Regions from separate parts of the Homo sapiens genome. Here region 1 is linked to region 2. Evidence: promoter capture Hi-C in 16 types of primary human blood cells and fetal thymus (Javierre and others, 2016). All regions are on one chromosome and are shown on one strand. Each heading gives the region's core, a stretch centred on a gene start or on the middle of the fragment in contact. The rest is flanking DNA. Distances are from core to core; before and after follow the strand shown. Region 1 overlaps CHUK (component of inhibitor of nuclear factor kappa B kinase complex). Region 2 holds the start of ENTPD7 (ectonucleoside triphosphate diphosphohydrolase 7).

Evidence for each region. Contacts are between HindIII fragments. The CHiCAGO score rates a contact against its expected background, and 5 or more counts as called.
Region 1: a contact is called between a fragment that was not itself captured here and the fragment with the promoter of ENTPD7 in region 2, in 1 of 17 cell types (monocytes). The highest score is 5.7, in monocytes.

What each region holds. Positions count from the first base shown.
Region 1 is chr10:100,191,639-100,197,306 of GRCh38, reverse strand. It overlaps CHUK (component of inhibitor of nuclear factor kappa B kinase complex), which reads left to right. Exons shown (of 21, transcript NM_001278.5): 17 at 2,786-2,882; 18 at 3,176-3,323; 19 at 3,876-4,009. Among named protein-coding and RNA genes, the nearest start is that of ERLIN1, 8.4 kb to the right of the region's middle. The HindIII fragment of the contact is 6,783 bases long and covers 1-5,668 here.
Region 2 is chr10:99,658,176-99,663,326 of GRCh38, reverse strand. It overlaps ENTPD7 (ectonucleoside triphosphate diphosphohydrolase 7), which reads right to left and starts at 3,818. Exons shown (of 13, transcript NM_020354.5): 1 at 3,739-3,818; 2 at 3,363-3,465; 3 at 1,699-1,881. The coding sequence starts at 3,370. It also overlaps a transcript of SLC25A28 not described here. RefSeq lists silencers at 3,590-3,809, 3,930-4,139. The HindIII fragment of the contact is 2,116 bases long and covers 2,931-5,046 here.

The DNA.
Region 1 (5,668 bases), core at 2,045-4,544, 530 kb before region 2:
CACATGATGATGTTTTGGTTAACAACAAATTGTGTATACTATGGTAGTCCCATAAGATTATACTACTGTATTTTTACTATGTATTTTCTATGTTTACATGCACAAATACTTACCATTGTGTTACAGTTGCCTACAGTATTCAGTACAGTCACTTGCTGAACAGGTATGTAGCCTATTGTCAAAAGGCTATACCATACAGCTTAAGTGTATAGCAGGCTGTACCATCAGGGTTTGTATAAGTATTCACACAGTGACGAAAGTGCCCAATGATGCACTTCTCAGAACATATGCTCAGGGCCAAAAAAGCCTGTGGAGAGGGAGGTCCCTGAACAAGTTGAGAGATTGGCTCCAAAGAACAGTAGGAGGGATTAGCCTTGATACTATTGATATTGGAAAGAGAATGAGTGTGGATACAGATACTTTTTTGGGAGTAGAGGTTGGAAGATCAGGGTCTTACTGCCTTATGGCCTCTTATCCTGCAGTGGTAAGTGAGGTTAACTGAAATGGAAGAGGTGACGACCTCATAGATTTGAATAGAGTGCTAAAGACTTCTAAAAGCCACTGTGTGCAGTGGAAGATGTTGTTGACCCAAAACATTCATTAAGAATCCAGGCCAGGTGGCTCATACCTGTGATACTAGCGCTTTGGGAGGCTGAGACAGGAGGATCGTTTGAGGCCAACAGTTTGAGACCAGTCTGGGCAACATAGTGAGACCCTGTCTCTACAAAAAAATAAATCAATAAAATTTTTAAAAAGCTGGGTGTGGTAGTGTATGCCTGTAGTCCCAGCTACTCAGGAGGCTGAAGTAGCAGGATCGCTTGAGGCCCAGGAGGTCGAGGCTGCAGTGAGCCAAGATTACACTACTGCACTTCAGCCTGGGTTGACAGAGCAAGACTTTCTTAAAAAAAAAAAAAAAAAAAACCCAGAGCAGAAATGAAAAACCTGTGAATTAGCAGTGACAAATAGTGAACAGTAATATTAATTTTTTGTTGATAATTTAGTAGCTTGGATACAGGAACTGATAGAGCAGATGGTTGGATTAATCCAAGGTTAGGATTTTGCTGATGGAATAAGAGGATAAAAAGGTTGAAGATGTTAACAAATAGTGATTTAAGTGATAGAAGTTGTAGCTAGAGTAAAATATTAAAATCTAAGATTTCAAATAGAGCAAGTCCAATTCTTTTTCTTTAATCAATATTTCTGGGCCAGGCGTCGTGGCACATGCCTGTAATCCCAGCCACTTTGGAGGCTGAGGCAGGAGAATTGCTTGAACCAGGGAGGCAGAGGTTGCAGTGAACCAAGACTGTGCCACTGCACTCTAGCCTGGGTGACAGAGCTAGACTCCATTTCAAAAAAAAAATTCTGACTCCCAGTTTTCTGGCTAATGAATCAGATACCACAGATACACAGTGATAGCATTTGTTTAGGTTATATTTTTTAAAACTTTGAGGCAGCCCTGTCAACATACCATGAAGCTCAGAAATAAACTGCTACCCAGGTAGCTTCTTTGAGTGTCACCTTGAGTGACAAACTGTAACAAGATTGTGTCTGTCATTGGGGCCTATTATATAATCACACTTGATTTGTGGCCTCTATTGTCTTTTCTAGCTTAGAGTTGACTTGAATCTCTTGTTCATCTGAAATGGTTAAAACCAGCTTTCTTCATTATCCTGGAGAAGGCTAAAGTTCTGAGGGCTTTCACTGTCTTAAGGAGCTAGTTATATGAGAAAGCTCTTGGCTTGGTCCATGGTATTTAGGAAGGAATGCTGTTTGGAGAAGAACCTTTTTGGAGCCTTGCATTTGATTGTTGGTGAGGAGGAGACAACAGAGATGTGTGGGGAATAAAGTTGGGCTATGGGGGAAGTATTTGGAGTGATAGATAACAAAGGACACAACGTTTTTTAAACCTCCTTTGATGCTCATCATTTCCTTTTTGGTAAAATGGGGGTAACAAAAGTAGTCTTCTCACATGACTGCTGTGAGGATTAAATGGGAAAATTATAAGCAGAGAGTAGCAAATATTATTATTATTGCATTTAGGCTTAATTATTGTCCAAAGAATATACCAGCATGATGCATAAGCAACTTTCAACTCCTTTAGCCATTTTCTGAAATATAACAATTAATGATTTTTTTTTAAAATCGAGGTCACATTTTAAACTGTAGAACCCATTGTGACCAACAGCCATCCCATTTGAGGGTATCTGGCTGCTGCCAGTTGGCTTTAAGATGTCATACTGCCCTCAAATGGAACTTTCAGGATGTCTACAGGTCCCTTTACTAGTTGGTTTCAATGAGCTTTTTTCAAAGTTTTTCTGGGTTGTAAACAGACGGATAAACATGAAATTCCAAGCAACCTAGTTCAAGGGCCTCCTTCCTTTAGGTAATGAAAGTTTGATGAATTGTCCTACTGTTTCTAAATATGTGGTTAATCATCCAAGAAAAATTGTTCCCTTGGCCAGAGGCTGCATTTGTGTCTAGGGCTTGGGTTAGTATGGGTTAAAGATAGCCAAGACTATTGTTCTCAAGCACAGGCAACTAAGGTCTCTTACTGATAAATTTATATATACATTATACACCTGCAAACTTTATTTTTTATATATAACTAGATTTTATTTATAGGTAATCTTTATATCTTTTATCTTAACCCAATTTTTAATTTAAATGGAGATGTTTATTAATTAAAATTAGTTTCAGAGTTTCAGGGATTTTTGAGGAATTTTTTGTTTGGAGGCTGATATGTTACAGAAGAAAGGTTATATCCACTGACTGATGTCTTTTATAGATCACTCCTACAGTGACAGCACAGAGATGGTGAAAATCATTGTGCACACTGTGCAGAGTCAGGACCGTGTGCTCAAGGAGCTGTTTGGTCATTTGAGGTAGGAAAATTGCTTCATTTCCTACTGAAAAACCAGGATACGTTTATCTTGTTCCTCTCAAAGTACAAAAGCCCTCTTTGGTAAAGTATACTTACCCAGGAAGAATTCTGAAGGTACCTTGGGTAGCTTGGCCATAGCTATCTGCATTTATGTGTCCTTTTGTATGCATTACTTTGGAGATAAGTCATTAAATCTGATGCTGATTGTGGTTCATTTCCTCAGCTGGGTTTTGGGAATATGGTGTACAGTCTTGGGGCATGTGAAAGTGTCTGACACTGATTTAATCTCTCCAGCAAGTTGTTGGGCTGTAAGCAGAAGATTATTGATCTACTCCCTAAGGTGGAAGTGGCCCTCAGTAATATCAAAGAAGCTGACAATACTGTCATGTTCATGCAGGGAAAAAGGCAGAAAGAAATATGGCATCTCCTTAAAATTGCCTGTGTAAGTAATTATTAATGAATTATTTAATGTGACATTGAGTTGCTATTATTCCTTGCAAAGGGGATTTTTATCAGCATGAGGTGGGCCCTCTTGAAGACATGTATATTTTGCATTGGGATGACATCCATGTTCCTTGCTTGGTGTCCAGACTAGCAATTGAGATGCAGGACTTATTATCATCTCTCCTTTCCAATTTCTCTGTTGTTATACTCCTCTTAGCCCTTGACTACTGTGGTATTCCAACCTAACTTGGGGATAGATGTACCTGCCTAGATAATGAAATTGACCATCTATTCAACTGGGTTTTTTTTTTCTTTCTTCAACTAAAATGGTATAAGATGAGTGGATATATTTGGTTTTAGTCAATGAAGAAAGGGTCCAAGGACAGGTTACTAATGGTGTGTAAAGGTGGGAATAGTTTTGTACTGAAATACTCTGGTTGTGCATATAAGTAGTAACGGAAATGTAAGTCTTAGGAATATGATAAGAAATTGTGTGAATCAACAGAGATGCTTGCCTGTAATCTTTTGATGTTTTTTTCTTTTCCTTCAGACACAGAGTTCTGCCCGGTCCCTTGTAGGATCCAGTCTAGAAGGTGCAGTAACCCCTCAGACATCAGCATGGCTGCCCCCGACTTCAGCAGAACATGATCATTCTCTGTCATGTGTGGTAACTCCTCAAGATGGGTGGGTTTACTTTGTAACAATAGATAGCTGTGTTTTCATAGCAGTGGTATAGGAATGAGGCAGTAGTTGTTAAGGTAGTCTTCTGTGCCTTCAGACCAGGGTTGAGTCCTGACTATCCCTTTGTAATAATCTTAGGCAACTTACTTGACTTTTTTGATGTTCATATTTCCTCACCTGTAAAACAGGAATGTCTCATAGAACTGCTGTGGAAATTTGATTAGACAATGTATATAAAGTGCTTGGGAAATAAATGTTCAGCAAATGTTGCGTATTATTAGCTCAAATGTTGCTTATTATTAGCTAAGTCCAAGTTCTAAGTCCTTTCTTTTATTGGCTTATTACTTTCTTTTACTCAAACCTTACTCCTTCATTAACAGTTTATGAGAAATTATGCTATCATTTTGCATTTATCATTTTGGGGATCCTTGATTACCCTTCTAATAAATTTTTGAGATCTATTTTATAACTTTGTATTTCTAAGATTAGACTTTTTTCAGTGTTTTAAATCAGTTTTGCAAGAACTCAGATTCCAAGCCCTATATTTTATTAATTCCTACTCTTTTGCTAAAAGCTGAATGACTATCCATTTCTGTTATTTTCTCAGCTTAAGATGTGCCGTATCCAAAGCCAGTGGCTCTTTGCTAGCTTGTGTATTGTCGCTTTTCTCACAACTCATGGAGACCTCTACAGCACCAGCATTTCCTGGAAGCTCTGCCCATAATTAGTTTTGCAGAAGTGCAGCCATGTTACATCACTGCTCAGGAGGTCATGCAGTTGCACATTCTGTACTCTACTTTTATGAGAGAAAAGCACATGGCAGGAAGGCAAGCTGATATCAGGTATTTTATTTTTTTAAAGAAAGCAAGTTCCAGGGTATATATCTTGGGGTCATTATACATGTGGCCCAATGCAGTACACCTACAACTGTAGCACAGGCTATAATTAAATATATAGACTTTACAAAATACTCCAGTAATCAGAGTTGAAGGAAGTAAAATTTAATACTTTACTTACTTTTTTGCCTTTATTAAAGGCATTTAAGTTTTTTAGCGGATGTTAATGTTTACAAATGTCACCACAATACAGGTAATTTCCAATTTGAAGTGTAGTTGCTTGCAAAAGTATATCTGACAGACATTTTCAATGTATTTTCTAGAAGGAACACATTATATTTTGTTTTGAGACGGAGTCTCATTCTGTCGCCCAGGCTGGAGTGCAGTGGCACAGTCTTGGCTCATTGCAACCTCCGCCTCCCAGATTCAAGCAGTTCTCCTGCTTCAGCTTCCCGAGTAGCTGGGATTTCAGGTGCGTGCCACCATACCTGGCTAATTTTTGTATTTTAGTAAAGACGGAGTTTCACCATGTTGGCCAGGCTGGTCTCGAACTCCTGACCTCAAGTAATCCACCTGCCTCGGCCTCCAAAAGTGCTGGAATTACAGGCATGAGCCACCATGTCCAGCCAGAATACATTGTATAAGAAAATTGATTTCAATTATAATGTACCTGTGGTACTTAACTACCAAGGATTGGGAACTGTTTGACCATAATTTTTCCATCTGTTGGATAAGAGCTGAATCAGAATGTCATTCTAAGCTAATAGTGGCTATCATCCATGACCTAAAACGGACTCTTGTTAGGGGACTGAAGATTGGCAAAGGG
Region 2 (5,151 bases), core at 2,569-5,068:
CAGACATCTCAGAAAGAATGCAAGCCAAAAGACAGTGAAGCATCATCTTTAAAGTAATGAAAGGAAAAAAAATGATCAACCTAGAGTTCTATACCCAATGAACATTTCTTTCAAAAGGAAAGCAAAATAGGGACTTTTTCAGTCATATAAAAGTTGAAAGAATTTATCACCGCATACTTGCTCTACTAGAAATGCTAGAGAATGTTCTTGAGGTAAAAGCAAATATGGAAATATGGATCCAGATGGAAATATGGATCTACACAAAGGAATGAAGCAGACCAGAAATGGTAAATATAGACAAAAGTGACTCCATCTTGGATGTTAATCTGCCACATTGACTTCTGACTAGCCTCAGTCCCGTAAATGCCTCTTGATTCCTGCTTTATTTACTACTGTAAGAACATGTCAACCTTGGTGTTGGCACACAAATGACAGGATATGGCACATGCAGCATTCTTACCTGTTCTGGAGGGCTGTCTTTAATTGTCTTGCACAGGGTGCATATACCATCTCCCTGTACTATATAAGCCCTGGGTCTGGGGAGTAACAGTATGGAGATCTATCTGTCTTGCAGCTACCCAGGGCCACGCTTCTGTCTGCAAATTCCCTCAATAAATCAATGAATACCAACGAACAATTTGCCTGCCTCCTCCTTTGGTTTCTCCGTCCCTTCAGCATTCAAGGGTCACTTTGCTTATATGACCCTTTCAGGCAACAATATGGTTAAATACATAAGCCTTTTTTTCTTATATTGAAAATCTCTTCAAAAGACAATTGACTAACACAAAAATAATAACAATATATTGTGGAGCTTATAACATGTAGAAATAAAATACATGACAGTAGCAGAAAGACCAAGGGGAAGGGAGGAATGAAAGTATACTGTTGTTAGGTTCTTGTTCTAGATGTGAAGAGGAGTAATATTACTTGAAGGAAGATTGTGATAATTAAAGATGACACTATAAACTTTAAAGTAACCACTAAAAAAAGAAGAAGTTATATCTAATAAGCCAACATGAGAGATAAAATGGAAACATAAAAACTGTGCTCAACTGAAAAGAAGAGGGAAAAAGAGGAAAAAGAACAAGAACAAATGTGACAAATGAAAAACACATAGCAAGATTAAAACTAAACATACTAAATAATCAGATTAAATATAAATGGCCCGAACACCCCAATTAACTGCAGAGATAGTCAGATTGGATAAAAAAACAAGACCCAACCAAACACTGACTACAAGAAGCCCACTTATATAAAGACACCAATAGGCTAAAACTAAAACTATAGAAGAAATATCTGTCATGCTAATGTTAATCAAAAGAAAGTTGGAGTAGCTATATTAATACCAGACTAGTAGATTTCAGAGCAAAGTATATAATCAAGGATAAAGAAAATCATTTAATAATGATAAAGGGGTCCATTCATAAAGGTATAATACAGTCCTAAACATTTATACACACAATAAGTTTCAGCCCACCAAAACAAGAAAACACAAAGATGCCTTTCATGCAGTATCAGTATTCCTGTACCAAACTGCATATTGCCAAAATAGGGCTTAAAATCTTCTTTATGTAATAAATGGCATGCAATTTTACTAATAAAAGTACAGTATCACCCAAAAGGGTCAAAGTCAGTAGTGTGTTAAACAGCTTATGAAAATATTTATGACTTGAGTGCCAAAATCTAAAGCTGACTCACCTTTCGTATTGCCTATCTCGTGGTAATGAAGCACTCCAATGTCGAAAGTCTATGATTAACATAAGTAAAAGGAGACAGGATATGAAGAAGAGTCCCAGGAATGCCACCCGCTGACGGAGAAATGGACTCACTGTGGGCACAGTGAAGTACCAGGAGGCTGGGCAGAGGTAGGAAAAACTGATCCTGAAATTAGACAAACATTAGTAAGTCTGAAACATTTCTACAACTGAGTGCTTAAATATCGTTTTAAAATTGGATAAAACCCTCCTAATAAAGGCAAAAATCCATGCCAACAGAAGTCTAAATGTTCTTGTCATCTCTAATTTTAGAAGAAGCTCATGGTGCTTCTACTATATATATCAGAAAAGCCTTATCTGCCCTTTTTCCAAACTGCACTTTGAGTGCAATTCAAAGACTTAATCTCATGTTAGTGAAAAGATCACCAGTCTCCCTGGGCAACCTCATAACATTGGAGAATCAGAGCAACTACAGTATTCCCAACCAAGAATTCTGTCAAGAAACAGGATGGTCAGAAAATTTATTTAACTGATTTTAAAAATGTTTTACCAGATTATACAAGCACATAGTAAAAGACAAATCAGTTTAAAAGGATATATTGTATAGTGAAAAGTGATTCTTGCCCTGACCCCACAATCTCTCAGAGGCAAACATTACTACCCAGTTGCTGTGTAATTTTTTTTTTTTTTGAGATGGAGTCTTGCTCTGTTGCCCAGGCTGGAGTGTAGTAGCGCAATCTCAGCTCACTGCAACCTCCACCTCCTGGGTTCAAGCGATTCTTCTCCCTCAGCCTCCCCAGTAGCTGGGATTACAGGTGACTGCCACCACACCCGGCTAATTTTCGTATTTTTAGTAGAGACCGGGTTTCTACTTGGCCAGGCTGGTCCTGAACTCCTGACCTCAGGTGATCTGCCTGCCTTGGCCTCCCAAAGTGCTGGGATTACAGGCGTGAGCTACTGCACCTGGCCGTTGCTGTGTATCTTTCCAGGGATATTCTACGGATACACAAGCATAAATATACACCAATATATTTACAGTAATATATCTCTGTGTGTGTGTGTGTGTGTGTGTGTGTGTGTGTGTGCGTATCCATTCCCTCGGTTTTACACAAATGGTAGTCCACCATACCTGCTGTTCTGCATCTTTCCCCCACTTTATTTTATAACTTTCCCTTATTGGTGCATGTAGATCCACATTAATATTTTTTAAAAGCTTCAGGTTATTATAATGTATGGATAAGTGTATTCATCTGTGAAGTTCACTTTGTATATTGATTCAAAAGGACCTCGGTCTGTCTGCTTTTAAAGTTCACTGCAAACAAAAAACAAAAAAACTTCTTTGTTTAACCTCCTCAAGTGGCACCTAGCCTTGCTCAGATGCGAATCTGAATCAATGTTACAACCTTGCACTTTACAGAGCTGAGCAAGCCGACTCACTCTACCACTCCTGGTCTATGGGCTAGAAACTATTATTTATCAGCCCTCGAAATAATACAACTTTGATCGTCTCTGCATCCAACTAACCAGAATACAAAGTCCAAGTGCAGCTCCAGGGCAAACCTCACTTGGGACAGCCTCCCAGGGCCCCCCAACCTGCCTGCCATCCTCTGCCGTGCTCCCAGCCGGAGGGAAAGTGTGCAGCCTTACCTAGCCATGGGTTCCCTTCGGTGGTCTCAACGCCTGTCACCTTCTTTTTCTTTTGCCCTGAGAAGGTGGCCTCCTTGTCCCAGGCATCTCCTACGTCTGCAGCCTAGAAAGATTTGATTTCAGGCTTCTGTCCGACTGAGCCCACGAGACAAACCTGCACGGGAATTCCACGGCTCCCACCTCCTCCCCAGGCTCCCGCTCCGTCTGCTCTGGTTCCTCAGGCCCAGGGGACCCTACCCGGGCATCCTGGGAGCGGGGCGTTCTCGTGGGCCAGCTCTGTCCTCTAGGAACCGGTCGTCCCCAGGTGGCGGGGTGTGGGTCCCGCTTCCTCTCCCCGTCCCTCCGGGTCCCACAGCCCTCTCGCGCCCACACTCACGGGATCAAGCGGCCCGCCGGTTCCTTCGGCACCTCTCGGTTCAGTCCCGAGCTGCTCCCCGCGGCCCCTTGCCCAGCCGGAAGGAGGGCCCGGCCGGCGGCGGCGCCACGTCCCCAAGGAAACCGCAGGGAGCCAATGACTGACAGAAGACTCACGGAGGGGCCGGCTCTCCACGAGCCGAACCGGGGGCGAACCAGCTCGGTCAGCAGCACGTCCGTCCGCCAGGGTGGCCAATCCCCTAGAGCGCTCGGCCTCTGATGCCCGCCCCGGGACTTTGAGCCGCGCCCAATCGGAAAGGCGTCGTACCGAGGCTCCGCCTGCAGGGCCCGCGGAGAGCTCACAGGTGAGTGGCGCTGGGCGGCCCTGTGCCCGCTTCCCTCCCTGGGGCGCGAACTCTCGGCTGGTTGCTTTCTCCACGGCCGCTCCTGGGACAGAGTAGCTCCGGTAGGTGGGTTCAGGGTGTTCGCGACCGAAGCGCATCCCTTGCCCATAACCTATTGTTGGTTTTGTGCCCACTGACCCTCCCTACCAGAATGGCAGTTCTCTCACCTTAAACCTTCCCTATCACCTCCCAAACTGATGCCCCGACCTCACTGTCTTGCCCCGTGAGAAAACAGAAATCGAAGACAATGACGTTTACACCAAAGTGCTTATGTCCATTCATTCATTCATTGAATGTCTGCTTATGCCAGTCATCATGAATTTCTGTGTCGCCGCCCTCCTTGACCTTACAGTAACACAAAGGAAACGACGCGCGCGCGTGGGTGTGTGTGTGTTTCTTTCTTGCTTACACCAGCCGTTATCTCATTTCCAGGAGGACGGCATAAAGTCCAAGCTCTTTCCAACGTGGCACATCCATTGCGCCCCACGATCCGCCCTACCGCCGTCCTCTGCCGCTACTTGCCTTCCTTACCACGCTCCAGCAACGCGTCCTGTTTTGCTCATTCTGCCCCTCCACCTGCCTTGAATAACCGTCCCAGCCTCTTAGCCAAATCACCTCCTACTCATCCCTTACCACCCATCTTAAGGGTCGCCTTCCCCTAAAAGCCCTACTTGACCTACTACACCTTTTTTATACATGCCTATTGTTTCACTTAGCACGTTGAATTACTATTATACGTATATGTCTGTCTGTCTGTCCCACTAGACAGAATATCCTTGAAGGCAGGGACTATTTGCTTCCACATATTCCCAATACTGGCCACTGCCTGGCAGATAAAACACAACTAATGTATAATTAATAAGCAAATGAATGAATGGGGGGGATCGGGGAGGAAGACCACCCAAATGCTTTATTTATTCAAAGCTTACTATGACAAGGGAGTCAGTCACCATCACTTGCATTTGGCCGACTCAAAGCCTGTCAGGACATTAGGAAAACTACTTACTTACTTAATTACCTACAGGGTCTCA